Linked DNA regions of Homo sapiens: region 2 is linked to region 1. The links are contacts of gene promoters, found by promoter capture Hi-C in blood cells and fetal thymus (Javierre and others, 2016). All regions are on one chromosome and are shown on one strand. Each heading gives the region's core, a stretch centred on a gene start or on the middle of the fragment in contact. The rest is flanking DNA. Distances are from core to core; before and after follow the strand shown. Region 1 holds the start of SHISA7 (shisa family member 7). Region 2 holds the start of TMEM150B (transmembrane protein 150B).

The links. Contacts are between HindIII fragments. The CHiCAGO score rates a contact against its expected background, and 5 or more counts as called.
Region 2: a contact is called between a fragment that was not itself captured here and the fragment with the promoter of SHISA7 in region 1, in 1 of 17 cell types (naive CD8 T cells). The highest score is 5.4, in naive CD8 T cells.

What each region holds. Positions count from the first base shown.
Region 1 is chr19:55,438,538-55,446,117 of GRCh38, forward strand. SHISA7 (shisa family member 7) reads right to left here and starts at 4,763. Exons shown (of 4, transcript NM_001145176.2): 1 at 3,656-4,763; 2 at 2,074-2,228. The coding sequence starts at 4,326. RefSeq lists silencers at 1,943-2,012, 3,577-3,666 and an enhancer at 3,455-4,083. The HindIII fragment of the contact is 48,275 bases long and covers 1-7,580 here.
Region 2 is chr19:55,320,465-55,328,044 of GRCh38, forward strand. TMEM150B (transmembrane protein 150B) reads right to left here and starts at 4,877. Exons shown (of 8, transcript NM_001282011.2): 1 at 4,808-4,877; 2 at 2,184-2,279; 3 at 505-629; 4 at 94-153. The coding sequence starts at 572. The HindIII fragment of the contact is 805 bases long and covers 1,386-2,190 here.

The DNA of each region.
Region 1 (7,580 bases), core at 3,513-6,012:
CGCAGCCGGGCCCTCTTCCGCACCCAGTGTGGCGGCGTGGTGCTTGGGGCTGTTGACGTTGAGGTGCAGGTAGCTGTGGTGCAGATTATCTGGGGGGACCGAGAAGGGAGATGATGTCACTGCCATCACTGACTCCCAGCTGGCACCGTGGCCCTGATCTCTGGGAAGGACTCTGGCCCCAAGGTCGGCCCCACATGCAGGACCTCGTTAGAGCTCCACAGATCAACCCATGCCATTGGCCACATGGGGGAAACTGAGGCTGGGGGTCTTGAAGGTGGAAAGTGTGGGCACAGGCTCAGGGCTGGGTAAGTGGTCTGTCCCAAGTTCTTAGCACCCCCCCCCCTGGTGCCCAGGCTAGAGATCTGAGGGGGTCGCCTTGCTACCTCCCTCCACCTCCCACTCATGTCCACTTGGTTCCTTCTGACATCTGAATCTCTGCCCTGATGTGTCCTCTCCCTCCTGGATCACCAAAGCAGCCTCTGGCCATCCAGCCCATCCATCTCCATGATCAGCCTCACCGAGGTAACTGCCCTTCCACTGCTCAACAGCCTTCCCATTGGCTCACCATCACCCACGGGACAAAGTTGAACCCAGGAATGGTGTTTGAGGCTTCAAAACCTGGACCCACTGGATGTCTGCAGCCCCATCTCCCATCCCTTCCCTCAAGCCGCACTGCTCTCTCCAGTGAGCCCAGCGTGGTCCTGCCACAGGGCCTTTGCACATGCCACCATGCTGTTCTCACTGCCTTGAAGCCCTTCTTCCCATCTGCCTCAAGATCCAGCTCAGATGTCTCTTCTCCTCTCCACCCCTGATCCCAGCTCCGTCCTTGTCCTCTTGCTGCCTGGACCATCATCCCAGCCTCCTCCTGGGCCTCTTTCCTCTCATCTCTGCCCTTTGCATGGGTTCCAGAGGACCGGTTCTACCACCCACTGCTGGCTGTGTTGCTCCTCTGCTGGAACTCCTCCGCAGCTCTCCATCACCCTCAGGACGGAGGCGGAGTTCCTCAGCCCAGCCTGGCGCTCAAGGCCCTCTCTGAGGTCACCAACCACCCTCTCCCTGGCCTCAAGTCTGGTCACCTCACAAGCTCTGCCACCTGGAGCTTCCCAGCCCCAGTAACTCCTCTCCTCCTCCAGGCCTTTGCTCAAATACCTCTCCCTCGGAGAAGCCCTTCTGACGCCTCTCCTCCTCCAGGCCTTTGCTCAAATACCTCTCCCTCGGAGAAGCCCTTCTAATGCCTCTCCTCCTCCAGGCCTTTGCTCAAATACCTCTCCCTTGGAGAAGCCCTTCTAACGCCTCTCCTCCTCCAGGCCTTTGCTCAAATACCTCCCCCTCGGAGAAGCCCTTCTGCCCCCAAACCAGACCACATCTTCTCAGTTCCCCTGACAGCTCCTTGGACCTCTCCACTGATGCATTCATCATAAATTATAATAATATAGATCATATTTAAATGATATACAATATTAAATATGATATATCATATTTTAAATATATAATTATATATATTTAACAATAGCAACAGCCCACACTTACATAGTATTTTTTTCTGTGTTACACATTATTCTAATCACCTGCCTCACCAATTCATTTGCTCTTCACCATAACCCCATGAAGTGAGTATTGTTATGTTTCTTATTTTATGGATGGAGAAACTGAGGCCCACAGAGGTGAGGTCACTTGCCCCAGGTCACACAATGGCAGAGTCAGGATTCAAACCCAGTCGGTCTGGCTCCTGACAAATTCGAATTTGGTAGTTGTGCCCTTGTGTGTAGTTGGCTGTTAGGTGGTCTGACACCGAGCGCAGGGGCTTGAGAATGTCTAAACCTACATCACCAAGGTGCCCATGGAGCCCCACCCAGGGGGGTCCACAGGAGGGCAAGGAGAGGGTCTGGCTCTCTACGGAGTTCCTAGCCCCCGTCCGCCTTTCGCAGGGCAGGACCCGGCAGTGCAAGGCGGGCGTAGGGGGTGAGGGCGGGTCCTGGGCGATGGGGGTGGAGCCGCCATGGAGGGCGGGGCTACATGATGAAGGGGCGTGGCCAGAGACGGAGGCTGCGCCGGATCCCACGTTCCACTCACCGAGGTTGGGGGTCTTCACGGTGTTGTAGAGGTTCTTGGGCGTCCTGGGGGGCATGCTGTCGGGACCGCCGATCCCCGGGGTCAGGGAGCTGCTTCGGGCCCGGTCCGGGCGGGTCCCAGGCCCCGCCTGATGTCTCAGAATGTCCACCAGAGCTCTAAAGGTGGCAGAGAGGTGGTCAAAGGCCTGGGGGCTGAGGGTGGCAGGGGTACCAGGAAGGCTTCTTTCCGCTCCCTGCTCTCGCCCTTGGGTAATCTGTCACTCAGCCTGCCTTTTTCGCCATTGGCCACGCCCCTTTCTCGTTGGCCACGCCCCCTAGAATGACCCCCTTTCTCAGGCCACACTTCCTGCTTGAAGCGCTGCTGCCTTAACTCGTGTGGAAGCCATCGCTTCTGTGGTCCCTCTCACTTCCCTGTGGGCTCGCCCCACCCTGAATCTGGGACCCCATTCCCGTTCCTTTTGCAGCCTTCCCCATGGCAACAAAGGGTGCTCCATTTACCCAGTGATGCGGACCTCAAACATTAAATCACCTTGACTCTTCTTTCCCCCACCTTCATACCTTTCAGCAATCCTACGGATCGAACCTCCAAAACATATCCCAAATCAGACCACTACTCACCACCTCTGCAATCTCTCACCTGGATCATTGCAACAGCCCCCTCACGGGTCTCCCCACTCCCACCCTAGCCCCGTACACTCCAGTCTCACGCGCAGCCCGCATAATTTAAAAAATGGACAGATGGCATCACGCCCGAGCTCAGGACCCTGCAGTGGCCCCATCACACTTAGGATAAACCCGGGCCCGCCTACTTCTCCTCACCTCCTGCTGCCCACCGCCGCCAGCTGCACGGGCGCTTCCCTGCCCTGCAGGCCACCGAGGGCCTTTGCACGCGGTTCCCCTGCCCAAAACCTCTCGCCCACAGATCTCTGCGTGGTTCGCTCCCTCCCTTCGGGTCTCCGTTCAGAGGCCTTTTCGGATCACTTCCTCTAATCCAGCGCCCTCTCTCTCAACACTTTCCGCTGATTTTCTTCACAGCAGTCATCTAAAATTACACTGCACATGCTTACGGACTGGGCCACTGATAGTTAATGAGCCCTTACCGTGTGCCAGGACCCTGCACGAATCAACTCAGTTAATTACAATCCGAATAGGTGGGGACGATGATTAGTCTCATTGTGCGGACAGGAAACTGAGGAACAGAGACGTTAAGCAACTCATCCACTGTCACATAGCCTGTAGGCTGTGAACTTGGATTTGGAAGTCAGGCTTTTCCACCAGGGCAGAGACCTTGTTTTGTTCACTGGTGTATCCCCAGCTCCTGGCCCACAGAAGGTGCTCAAGAAATATGTGTCGAATGAATGAGAGTCTGGGCTTCTCCCTCTCCCTGCATCACTCCGCAACAGCCGGGCCGGCTCTGGCGCGACTTTCTCAGCCCCTGCCCACCTTCAGCTACGCCGGCGGCCGCCACCTGGGTCTCTGACCACCACGCCCTATCCCTGCAGCCCCTCCTCCTCGGATGGCTCCACCTCCCTTGCTGGGCCCCGCCCCAGGCTCGCAGTCCTCCCGCCCGAGAGCACACGCACCTGGGCACGTTGATATCCCGGTGCGCCCGGGGCGCACGGGACGCCTTGCTGAAGGCCACTTTGGCGCCGACGCCCACGGCCAGGGCGAAGCTGATGACCCCGCACACGACGTAGGCTGTGCTGCCCCCGGGGCCCTCGCCCCCGCGGCCCCCGGCACCCCCAGTCCGGCCCCCTTCCAACCACCCGGCCTGGCCGGGCCCTGGCCCCCCGCCCGCACCCCCAGCGCCCCCGGCGCCCCCAGCTAGCGGCGGCGGCGTGGTGGCCCAGCGCGGCGTGTCGTAGTTGGAGCAGGAGGCCTGCGCCAGGCGCATGTGACGGTGCTCACAGCAGAAGCGGTAGTGGCAGGTGCCACAGCAGAAGCGGTAGGAGCCGGTGCTGCAGTTGAAGGTGGCGTCGTACTGGCCCATGACATCGTAGTAGCCGTGGCAGAGCTCGGCGGGAGGGGGCGCCCGGGCCGCCGCGCCCGCCCCGCCCGCGGGGCCGGTCCTGGTGCCGTTGGCGCCTGGGCTCGCCGCGCCCCCGCCGCCCGTCAGCGCCCCGGTCAGGCGCCGCAGGTGCGCCAGCAGGGCGGGCAGCGGGCCCGCGGGCTCGGCGCTCGTGGCGTTGGACGGGCGCGCCCTGGCCTGGCCGGCGCTAGAGGCCAGGAGTACGAGGAGCAGGAGGGCCGGCATGGGGCTTGCAGGGGGTCGCACTGGGCCGCCAGGCTGCGGGGAGAACGAGAGCAGAGGTTGGAGCGCTGGGCGGGAGAGAAACGGTCAGAGGGTGAGAAACGTAGAGATGGGTGGGCAGAGAGGCTGGGGAGGGCGGGCGGGGGGCGGCAGAGTGTGGGGAGCAACAGGCGCCAGGAGGCAGGAAGGGCGGAGGGAGCTGAGCTGCGTGGGCCCAAGTTGGCCGCCCCACGCGCGGTGGGCGACGATGGGAGAGTAATGGAAACGCGCCCGGGCACGGCTGGGGGAGAGAAATGAGCATGGGCGGACAGAACCGGGATCAGGCGAGAGATGAATGCGGGAGAAGCGATTGGGAGGGTCGACAGACACCAGAGGGGTGTGCAGACATTAGGACGAGGAGCGAGGCGAGGCGCGATGTAAGGAGAAGAAACGGGGGCGGCGAAGAGGAGAGGGCAGGGGAGGCAGCTGGAGGGAGGCGCGCGAAGGGGAGGGGAGGGTGGCGAGGGGAGTGGGGACCGCGGAGGGAGGGAAGGAAGCGAGACAGATGAGGGGTGGGTGGGAAAGGAGGAGTCAGGGAGACGGGGAAGGAGGGAGAAAAGAAGGGGAGGAGGAGGAGGGGGAGGAGAGGGAGGGAGGAGGAGAGAGAGAAGTTGAGAATTTGAGTTTATAGACCAGGCAAGTGGGAAGAGGCAGTGCACGGTTTTTCAACACTGACATTCGGGGACCGATGCTGCTTTGTGGTGAGCGCCTGTCCTGAGCGCTGTAGGATGTTTAGCAGCGCCCTCTCCATGCCAGCAGCACCACATTCCCCCGAGTTGTGACAATGTAAGATGTTTCCAGGCATTGCCAAATGTTCCCCTGGTGGGAGGAGGCCACAGCTGCCCCCGTGGAGAACCACTGACTTACACCCCTATGGTCCTCAGTGCCCCGAAATGCCAATTTCTCTCCCTTAGTTAGATCTGATAATCAAGGGATCTTAGGTGCCCTCCCTCCCTCCCTCTCTCTCCCTCTCTCTCTCTCTCTCCCTGGCATGCACACGCACACACACACCACTGTTACGGCGTCGGGTTTGAAGGGTCTCTGTCCACAGCTGAACCACAACCACAGCAGGGTGGTTCCCCTGCCGACTGGACCTCCTGCCAGCTGCCTGACACTGACAGGCTCTTATCTAAGCTCCCTGTGCCCCAAGTCCCCCATCTGTAAAATGGGGATAAGGATGGTTATCTCTGAGTGGTCAGGAGGATGAACTGAGGGAATATGTGTAAAGAGCTTAGAACAGTGCCTGGCATATTGCAGGTGAAATATGAAAGTGTTTGCTGCTGCTGCTATTTCAGAAGGGAGATACAGGCTGAGAAAGGGTCGTCCGGGTGCGGCGGCTCACGCCTGTAAATCCCAGCACTCTGGGAGGCCAAGGTGGGCAAATTGCTCAAGCAGGAGACCAGCCAGCCTCGCCAACACAGCAAAACCGTGTCTTTACAAAAAAAAAAAAAAAAAAAATTAGCCCGGCGTGGTCGTGCGCACCTATAGTCCCAGGTACTCAGGACGCTGAGGTGGGAGGATAACTTGAGTCCCAGAGATCAAGGCTGCTGGGAGCTGTGATTTCACCACCGCACTCCAGCCTGAGTTGACAGAGTGAGACCCTGTCTCAAAAGAGAGAGAAAAGGTGATGCAGAAGAGAGGTGGGAGTTGGTGGTGGTGGTGGTGGGCACGTCTTCCAGCTGTTTCTATGGCAACAGTCCAGCCAAGTCCCAGACACGCCCACCCCCGTGGACCTAGAGGGATGATAGAGGTGGGAAGGATGCCTGGCCTCGGGTTCCGGGAGAAGGAAACGTCTGAGCTCTACCTGCAGGAGGAACCCCCCAGGGGTCTGGGGTGACTGCCCACGGAGTCTTACATTTCCTCTCTGCAAGAACCTGATCTGAACAGCCCCTGCCCTGAGCTAGCTGCCGAGAGGCTGCCATAGAGCTTCCCAGGAGCAGGCATGATGCGCGGGGTGTGCATTCGTTCTGCAAATCTTCATTCAATAAATGTCTCCTGAGCAGCCTCCCTGGGCTGAGGATGCAGCAGTGAGTAAGCCCACAGGGTTCCTGCCTTTACGGGGGTTTACGTGCTAGTGAGGGGGGACAGTCAGCAGATGGACACAAATGAATGGGACACATGTTGACGCCAATTGTGAAGAAATAAAAAGGAATGATGAAGGAAGCCGTGAAGAAATGAAAGCAGCATAAAGGGATGGAGGGGGTGGATGGGATTGAGTCAATAAATATCACTCGGTGTTATTTTCTATTATATGCCACCATCCATCGTGTGTGTGTCTAGGGACCACACCACTGTCAACAACATTGCTGCTGGTGGGGATGGGCAGAGGGTTGGAAGGTGAACCTTCCAGAGCCTCAGTGAGCTCCATCGCCCTCCTGCTTGGGGCCTCACCTTTCCTTTTCAGCTCCAGCTTGGACCCCTCCCCTGACTCGGTGCTAGAATACCCCACTGCCCACTGGACACTTCCTCCTGGGTGTTTAATGGGAGTCTTAGAAGTGGCTTGACCCCACACTGTGGAAGAGAGTTTGGCGGTTCCTTAAAAAGTTAACTAGAATTGGTCCAGGCGCGGTGGCTCACGCCTGTAATCCCAGCACTTTCGGAGGCCAAGGTGGGCGGATCACTTGCGGTCAGCCTGGCCAATATGATCACTTGCAAGACCAGCTTGGCCAATATGACGAAACCCCGTCTCTACTAAAAATACAAAAATAACTAGCCGGGCATGGTGGCGTGCGCCTGTAGTCCCAGCTACTCAGGAGGCTGAAGCAGGAGAATCGCTTGAACTCCGGAAGTGGAGGTTGCAGTGAGCCGAGATTATGTCATTGCACTCACTGTACTCCAGCCTGGGCAACAGAGTGAGACTCCGTCTCAAAAAAAAAAAAAAAAGTTGGCCGGGTGCGGTGGCTCATGCCTGTAATCCCAGCACTTTGGGAAGCTGAGGCGGGTGGATCACGAGGTCAGGAGATCGAGACCATCCTGGCTAACACGGTGAAACCCCGTCTCTACTAAAATTACAAAAAATTAGCCGGGCGTGGTGGCGGGCGCCTGTAGTCCCAGCTACTCGGGAGGCTGAGGCAGAAGAATGGCGTGAACCCCGGAGGTGGAGCTTGCAGTGAGCAGAGATCGTGCCACTGCACTCCAGCCTGGGCTGACAGAGTGAGACGTCGTCTCAAAAAAAAAAAAAAAAAAAAGAAGTTAACTAGGATTACCATGCACTTCCA
Region 2 (7,580 bases), core at 538-3,037, 120 kb before region 1:
AAGACAAAGGGGTCATCCTGGGCAATCCAAGCTAGGGCCTCCACTTTCCTGCAGCGGCGATCCCCCCAAATCCCTACCCTCGGGCAGAATTACCTGATGTAGGGAAAGCCTTTACTGAGGTCCACAGTCCTGTTGGTCACTGCAATGGCAAAACTACGGAGGAAATCAGAGTGAGTGGGCGACTCTCACCAACAACTTTTCCTTCTGTTAACCAAACAAACAAGGACTTCTAGCCCCCTCCACCCTCAGACCAGGAGTCCAGGCCCCCAGCCCCTCCTCCCTCAGACCCAGGAGTCCAGATCCCCCAGCCCCTCCTCCCTCAGACCCAGGAGTCCAGACCCCCAGCCCCTCCTCCCTCAGACCCAGGAGTCCAGGCCTCCAGCTCCTCCTCCCTCAGATCCAGGGATCCAGGCCCCCAACCCCTTCCTCCCTCAGACCCAGAAATCCAGGCCCCAGCCCCCTCCACCCTCAGACCCAGGAGTCCATCATGCCTCTGACACTCACACGATCCAGACGCCAGAGATAGCCCAGACAGCTAGGAAGACAGGCATCAGCGACAGGTAGCCCCACATGCCGGGCTCTGCAGGTGAAGGATCGGGGCTGAGGCTGGACACCTGTCTCTCTCACACCTGAAGAACCAGCCCTCAAGGAGGGCCCAGGTGCATGAGATTGTGGCCCCAACCACTAGGCCCCGCTTGGCTCTCAGGCAGAAGTCACCTGTAGGGGTCTGATCTGATTGGCCAGCTCTCCATTTCCAGGCAATTTCCCCACCTATCCCGCAGTGTTCAACCCTATCTCACGCATTCTCCTGCTTGAGGAATTTCTCCCTGTCCTCCCAGCCCCTCCTTGCACCTCCCAGCCTCTCCTTGCACCTCCCAGCCTCCAGGACCTCCTGGAGATGCTCACCTCTCCAAGATCCCTGGGGCTCTCAGTCCTGGGACTGGGGCTGGGTGAGCTTAGGGAAGAAGGGCTGGCATTCGGGATGGGGCTCAGACAGGCCAAGGCAGAGGCAAAGTCCCAGCTGGAGCGCTGGAGGGCTGCCTGGGGTCTTGGGTCTGACCAACACTTCCTGAGGGGCTCTCTACCTCCAAACCGCCATGTCCTCCCTCCTCAGAACCTAGCAGGCAGCACCTTAGCTTCAGGGGCCCCTAACTTCCTTCCTCCAGCTTTGTGGGTTCAACGTCCAAAGTCTCAGCCCTTCCCTCCCCAGGAACCAGGAATCTGAGCCTCCAGCTCTCTCCAGCCTGGAAGACCCAGAATTCCGGGGCCCCAGTTCCTCCTAGAATACAGATATTCTTCTCCAGCTCCTGATGTCCAACCTCCCAGCTCTTACCTACTCGGGTACCCAAGAGTGAGGGCCTCAGGTCGGCCTGCTCTCTGGGTGAAGCTTCTGTTTTGGGGCTGGGAGATATGGAGCACTGACAACCCTGCCTCCTCCCCTCCACTCTCCTTCCTCTCACCCTTCTCCTTTTGCCTGCTGGAGTTCCCCAGGCAGGCTGAGCATGGGTGGGAAGGGAGCTTTCAGCGATGACATCTCCATCCGAAAATTCCCCCAGCCAGACAAAGACTGCTCCTGCCGCCTGACCCTTTTCCTTCTCTCTCCCAACAGCCATCTTCAGCTTCTGACCTCCTCCTGGCTTGGTATTTAGGGATTTGGAGTCATGGCCTCTTCCTTCTTCCCAGGACCCAGGAGTCCAGTCCCTCAGCCCCTCCTCCCTCAGACCCAGGGTCAGACCTCTAGGCCCTCCTTCCTTAGACTCCGGAGTCCCTCCTGCCTCTGACACTCACGAGGTCCAGACCCCAAGATAGCCCAGCCAGCAGGGACAGGGACAGGTAAGCCTCACATGCTGGGCTCTGCAGGAGAATGAGAGGGGCTGAAGCTGGGCCCCTCTCGCTTTCCTCTTTCTCTCTCCTCCCCTTCACACCTGAAGAACCAGCCCCTTGGGGAGGGCCCAGGTGCATGAGATTGTGGCCACGGCCTCTGGGCCCCCATTGGCTCTCAGGCAGACGTCACGGGTGGGGGTCTGATCTAATCGGCCAGCTGTCCTCCACTCCAAGCAATCTCTTCACCTGTTTCAGTGTTCAGTCCTAGCTCACACATTCTCCTGCTTGGGGAGTTTCTCCCTGCCCTCCCAGCCCCTCCGTGCACCTCCCAGCCTCCAGGGCCTCCCCAGGATGCTCACCTCTCCAAGCTTCCTGGGGCTCTCAGTCCTGGAGCTGGGGCTGGGTGAGCTCAGGGAAGAAGGGCTGGCATTCGGGGTGGGGCTCAGGCAGACATCCTGCAGAGGCAAAGTCCAGGCTGCAGGACTGCCTGGGTCCTTTGGTCTGACTGCCACTTCCTAACGGCTCTCTGTCCCCAAACCACCGTGTCCTGTCTCCTTAGAACCTCACAGGCAGCACCGTAGCTTTGGGGGACCCTAATTTCCTTCCTCCAGCTTTGTGTATTCAACATCCAAACTCTCAGCCCTATCCTCCCCTGGACTCAGATCGGAGCCTCCACCCTTGGGGACCCAGGAGTCCAAGCTCCAACTCCTTCCTCCTTCCCCAAAATGCAGGAGTCCAGGCCCCCAGAACTCTTCCCTTAGACACAGAAGTCCCAGCCACCTCCTCTCTCACTATGCCACCTCGTGTCTTTTAATGGACATAAAATCCACATAACATTAGCCATTTTAAAGTGTACGACTCGGCCAGGCACGGCGGCTCACGCCTGTAATCCCAGCAGTTTGGGAGACCAAGGTGGGCAGATCATCTGGAGTCAGGTGTTTGAGACTAGCCTGGCCAACATGGTGAAACCCCATCTCTACTAAAAATGCAAAAATTAGCTGGGTGTGGTGGCGGGAGCCTGTAATCCCAGCTACTCCGGAGGCTGAGGCAGGAGAATCCCTTGAACCTGGGAAGCAGAAGTTGCAGTCAGTCCAGATCATGCCATTGGACTCCAGCCTGGGTGACAAGAGCAAAACTCTGTCTCAGAAAAAAGAAAAAAAAAATGTGCGACTCAGCGACATTAGTGCACTCCCAATGTTATGCAACCATCGCCTCTTTCTTTTTTTTTTTTTGAGACAGAGTCTCCCTCTGTCACCCAGATTGGAGTGCAGTGGCGCAATTTCGGCTCACTGCAACCTCTGCTTCCCGGGTTCAAGTGATTCTCCTGCCTCAGCCTCCTGAGGAGCTGGGATTACAGGCCGGTGCCACCATGCCTGGCTAATTTTTGTATTTTTAGTAGAGATGGGGTTTCACCATGTTGGCCAGGCTGGTCTCGAACTCCCAACCTCAGGTGATCCACCCGCCTCAGGCTCCCAAAGTGCTGGGATTACAGGCGTGAGACACTGCGCCCAACCTTTTTTTTTTTTTTTTTTTTCTGAAACAGAGTCTCCCTCTGTTGCCCAGGCTGGAGTGCAGTGGCACAATCTTGGCTCACTGGGACCTCCACCTCCTGGGTTCAAGTGATTCTCATGCCTCAGCCTCCCAAGTAGCTGGGATTACAGGTGCCCGCCACTATGCCTGGCTAATTTTTGCATTTTTTGATAAAGACAGAGTTTCACCATGTTGGCCAGGCTGGCCTCAAAATGCTGACCTCAAGTGATCCCCCTGCCTCAGCCTCCCAAAGTGCTGGGATTACAGGCGGAAGCCATCGCGCCCAACCCGTCTGGTGTATTTTATGCTCAGTGTAATGTTTTTGAGATTCATCCATGTTGTGGCATGTATTAGTGTTTCATTCCTTTATTTTTTATTTTTATTTTTTAAACAGCCAGGGTCGGCTGGGCAAGGTGGCTGACGCCTGTAGTCCCAGCACTTTGGGAGGCTGAGGCAGGTGGATCACCTGAGGTCAGGAGATCGAGACCAGCCTGGCCAACATGGTGAAAACCTGTCTCTACTAAAAATACAAAAAAAAATTAGCTGGGTGGCCGGGCATGGTGGCTCACGCCTGCAATCCCAGCACTTTGGGAGGCCGAGGTGGGCAGATCATGAGATCAGGAGTTTGAGACCAGCCTGGCCAACATAGTGAAACCCCGTCTCTACTAAAAATACAAAAATTAGCCGGGTGTGGTGGCAGGCACCTGTAATCCCAGCTACTCGGGAGGCTGAGGCAGGAGAATCGCTTGAACCCAGGAGGCGGAGGTTGCAGTGAGCCGAGATCGCACCACTGCATTCCAGCCTGGGCGACAGAGTGAGACTCCGTCTCCAAAAATAAATAAAATAAAATAAATAAATAAAATAAAAAATAAATCCTGTCCCAGTGGGGCTGATAGAGGGCAAAGCTCTCCAAGTCCTCCTCACCCCTTCTGCTGCCAAATGCCTCTCCTCTGGGTCTCGTCTTCCTCCTTTCGCTTCTTTTTCCGGAGGTCTCCGTTTGCCCAGACATGAATCTGAGCCACCCCCTGCCCTCAGGGGAATCCCTGTCTGTGGGCAACACAGATGATCAGCAGGTGACAGCTCCTCTAAAGGAAGTCACACAAAGCTATGAGGGAGCCCAGGGGAGGGAGGGGTCCATGCTACCTGCTCCTCCGTCGGCCCTCAACACTGATCTCCTGCCCTGCCCTGTCCTGTGTTTGCCACCTGGCTGATTCCCACTTCTCTTCCAAAAACATAATAATAATAAAGACGAGAAAGCCCAGGTGATCCTAAGGAAGACTTGTCCCCGCTCTGAGCCTCCATACCCAACTCGGTGTCCTGGCACAAAGATGAGTTTGGCTCACTGGTGTCCCCACGGTGCTTATGTGACCTGCTTGGACCCTCCCTGGGAGGACAGGGGACAGGGCTCCAGCCTGCCGAGCTACTTTCAAGTTGGGAATTAGGCCCCACTCACCGGCCACGGGTAGGTTGGGTGTCTGGAGCCTGAAGGATCCTTCCAGAAGCTAGGGCTGCTGGCCTGGCTCAGCCGAGGGGAAGAGGCTGTGCTTTTCCTCTGAGAAAGATGACGTTGCACTTTCATATTGAGGAAACCGCTTGTGGTTGGTGGTGGGGACTGGTTTTTATTTTTATTTTTATTTTTTTATTTTATTTTTTATTTTTGAGACGGAGTTTCGCTCTTGTTGCCCAGGCTGGAGTGCAATGGCGCGATCTCAGCTGACCGCAACCTCTGCCCCCGGGTTCAAGCGATTCTCCTGCTCAGCCTCCCAAGTAGCTGGAATTACAGTCATGCACCACCACACCCGGCTAATTTTGTATTTTTTTAGTAGAAACAGGGTTTCTCCATGTCGGTCAGGCTAGTCCCAAACTCCTGACATCCGGTGTTCCACCCGCCTCGGCCTCCCAAGTGCTAGGATTACAGGCGTGAGCCACCGCGGCCGGCCTATTTTTATTTTTATATCCCTAGATGTCTATGTCCCCTGCCTGGAAGTTTCCCCAGAGAGGGGATGTAGACGTCTAGGAACACAGAGGTCTCAGAACCTTCCCCAGGGAGGGGATGTACACCTCTAGAGATAGATGGGTCTCGGACCTCTGTTTTCTTGTCTGCAAAACAGGGATCATGATGGTCTGCCCTCGTGCAATTGTGAGGGTTTATTGGGGTTATCCACATAAGACCCTAAAAGAATGCCTGTCTGACCGGGCCCGGTGGCTCACGCCTGTAATCCCAGCATTTTGGGAGGCTGAGGCGGGTGGATCACCTGAGGTCATGAGTTCGAGACCAGCCTGGCCAATATGGCGAAACCCCGTTTCTACTAAAAATACAAAAATTAGCTGGGCATGGTGGCGGGCGCCTGTAATCCCAGCTACTCAAGAGGCTGAGGCCGGAGAATCGCTTGAATCCAGGAAGTGGAGGTTGCAGTGAGTCGAGATTGTGCCACTACACTCCAGCCCGGACGACAAGAGCGAAACTCCCTCTCAAAAAAACAAAAAAGAAAGAAAGAAAAGAAAAGCAAGAGATTGACTGGGGATGAGGTTGCTGAAGGATAAAGGAGGAGAAAGGCCAGGCGCGGTGGCTTAAGCCTGTAATCCCAGCACTTTGGGAGGCCAAGGCAGGCGGATCACGAGGTCAGGAGTTCAAGACCAGCCTGGCCAATATGGTGAAACCCCGTCTCTACTAAAAATACAAAAAAAAAAAGAAAAAAAGAAAAAGGAGGAGAAAGACCAGGAGTGGCTGGGAGAGACTTCAGACTGCAACGTGAGTGGGTCTGGGTCTGACACTGGAGAAAGGAGATGGGGAGAGTGGAAGAATCACAGACCATGTGCAGTTCTGAGAACCCCGGTCAGGTCAGCTGGGAAATGTGGTGCAAAGATCACCCATACGCAAGTCCATGGAGACCGAAAGCAAGTCAGTGGTTGCAAGGGGTGGGAAGAGGGGAGGATGGGAAATGATTGCTTATTTGGAGTTTCCTTATGGGGGTTATGAAACTGTTTTGGAACTAGATAGAGACGAAGGTTGCACAACATTGGGACTGTGCTAGACGACACCGAATTATACTTTAAAATGCTTAGAGTGGGCCGGGCGCCGTGGCTCACGCCTGTCATCCCAGCACTTTGGGAGGCCGAGGCGGGCGGATCACGAGGTCAGGAGATCAACACCATCCTGGCTAACATGGTGAAACCCCATCTCTACTAAAAATACAAAAAAATTAGCCGGGCGTGGTGGCGGGCGCCTGTGGTCCCAGCTACCCGGGAGGTTGAGGCAGGAGAACGGCGGGAACCCGGGAGGCGGCAGTTGCAGTGAGCCGAGATCGCGTCGCCGCACTCCAGCCTGGGCGACAGAGCGAGACTCCGTCCCAAAAAATAAATAAATAAATACATAAATAAATAAATAAATAAATAATTTAAAAATTAAATTTAACTTTTTTTTTTTTTTTTTGAGACGGAGTCTCGCTCTTTGGCCCAGGCTGGAGTGCAGTGACGCGATCTCGGCTCACTGCAAGCTCCGCCTCCCGGGTTCAAAGGATTCTCCTGCCTCAGCCTCCCGAGTAGCTGGGACTAAAGGCGCCCGCCACCACGCCCGGCTAATTTTTTTTTTTTTTTTTTTGTATGTTTAGTAGAGATGAGGTTCCACTGTGTTATTCAGGATGGTCTTGATCTCCTGACCTCGTGATCCGCCCGCCTCGGCCTCCCAAAGTGTTGGGATTACAGGTGAGAGCCACCGCGCCTGGCCAAAAAGTTAAATTTAATAAATAAATAAATAAACACTTTAGCACATTGACTTTAGAGGTGTCCACATTGGGCAGAAACGGCCAGGCTCTGCTCCCCACCCCATGCTTAGTCATCGGTCAAGGCTGCATAAAAAGAATGTAATAGCAATCCAAATCAAACACTGCTGAAGGTGCTACTGCTGGAGGCTGGAGACCAGCTGAAGTCCTCCCTGCTAATCAAGTTCTTTCAGGAAGGGTGAGCCACCTGGCTACCGTACTTGCCCAATGTCACTCAGCTACCGAGTGGAGCAGCTTGGGTCTGTCTGGCTGTAAAGTTTGGTTCCTTCCTATGTGCCATGCAATGCCCTTGAATATCCCTCCTTATCTTCACCCATCCAACCTTCTCCTGAAACATCCATTTATCTGTGCATATGTTCATGCCTTTGTGCATTCCTCCAGCTAGTTATTTCTCCACTCATCCACCCACCTGCCTATCCGGCCAGCCATTTGCTCATATGTTCT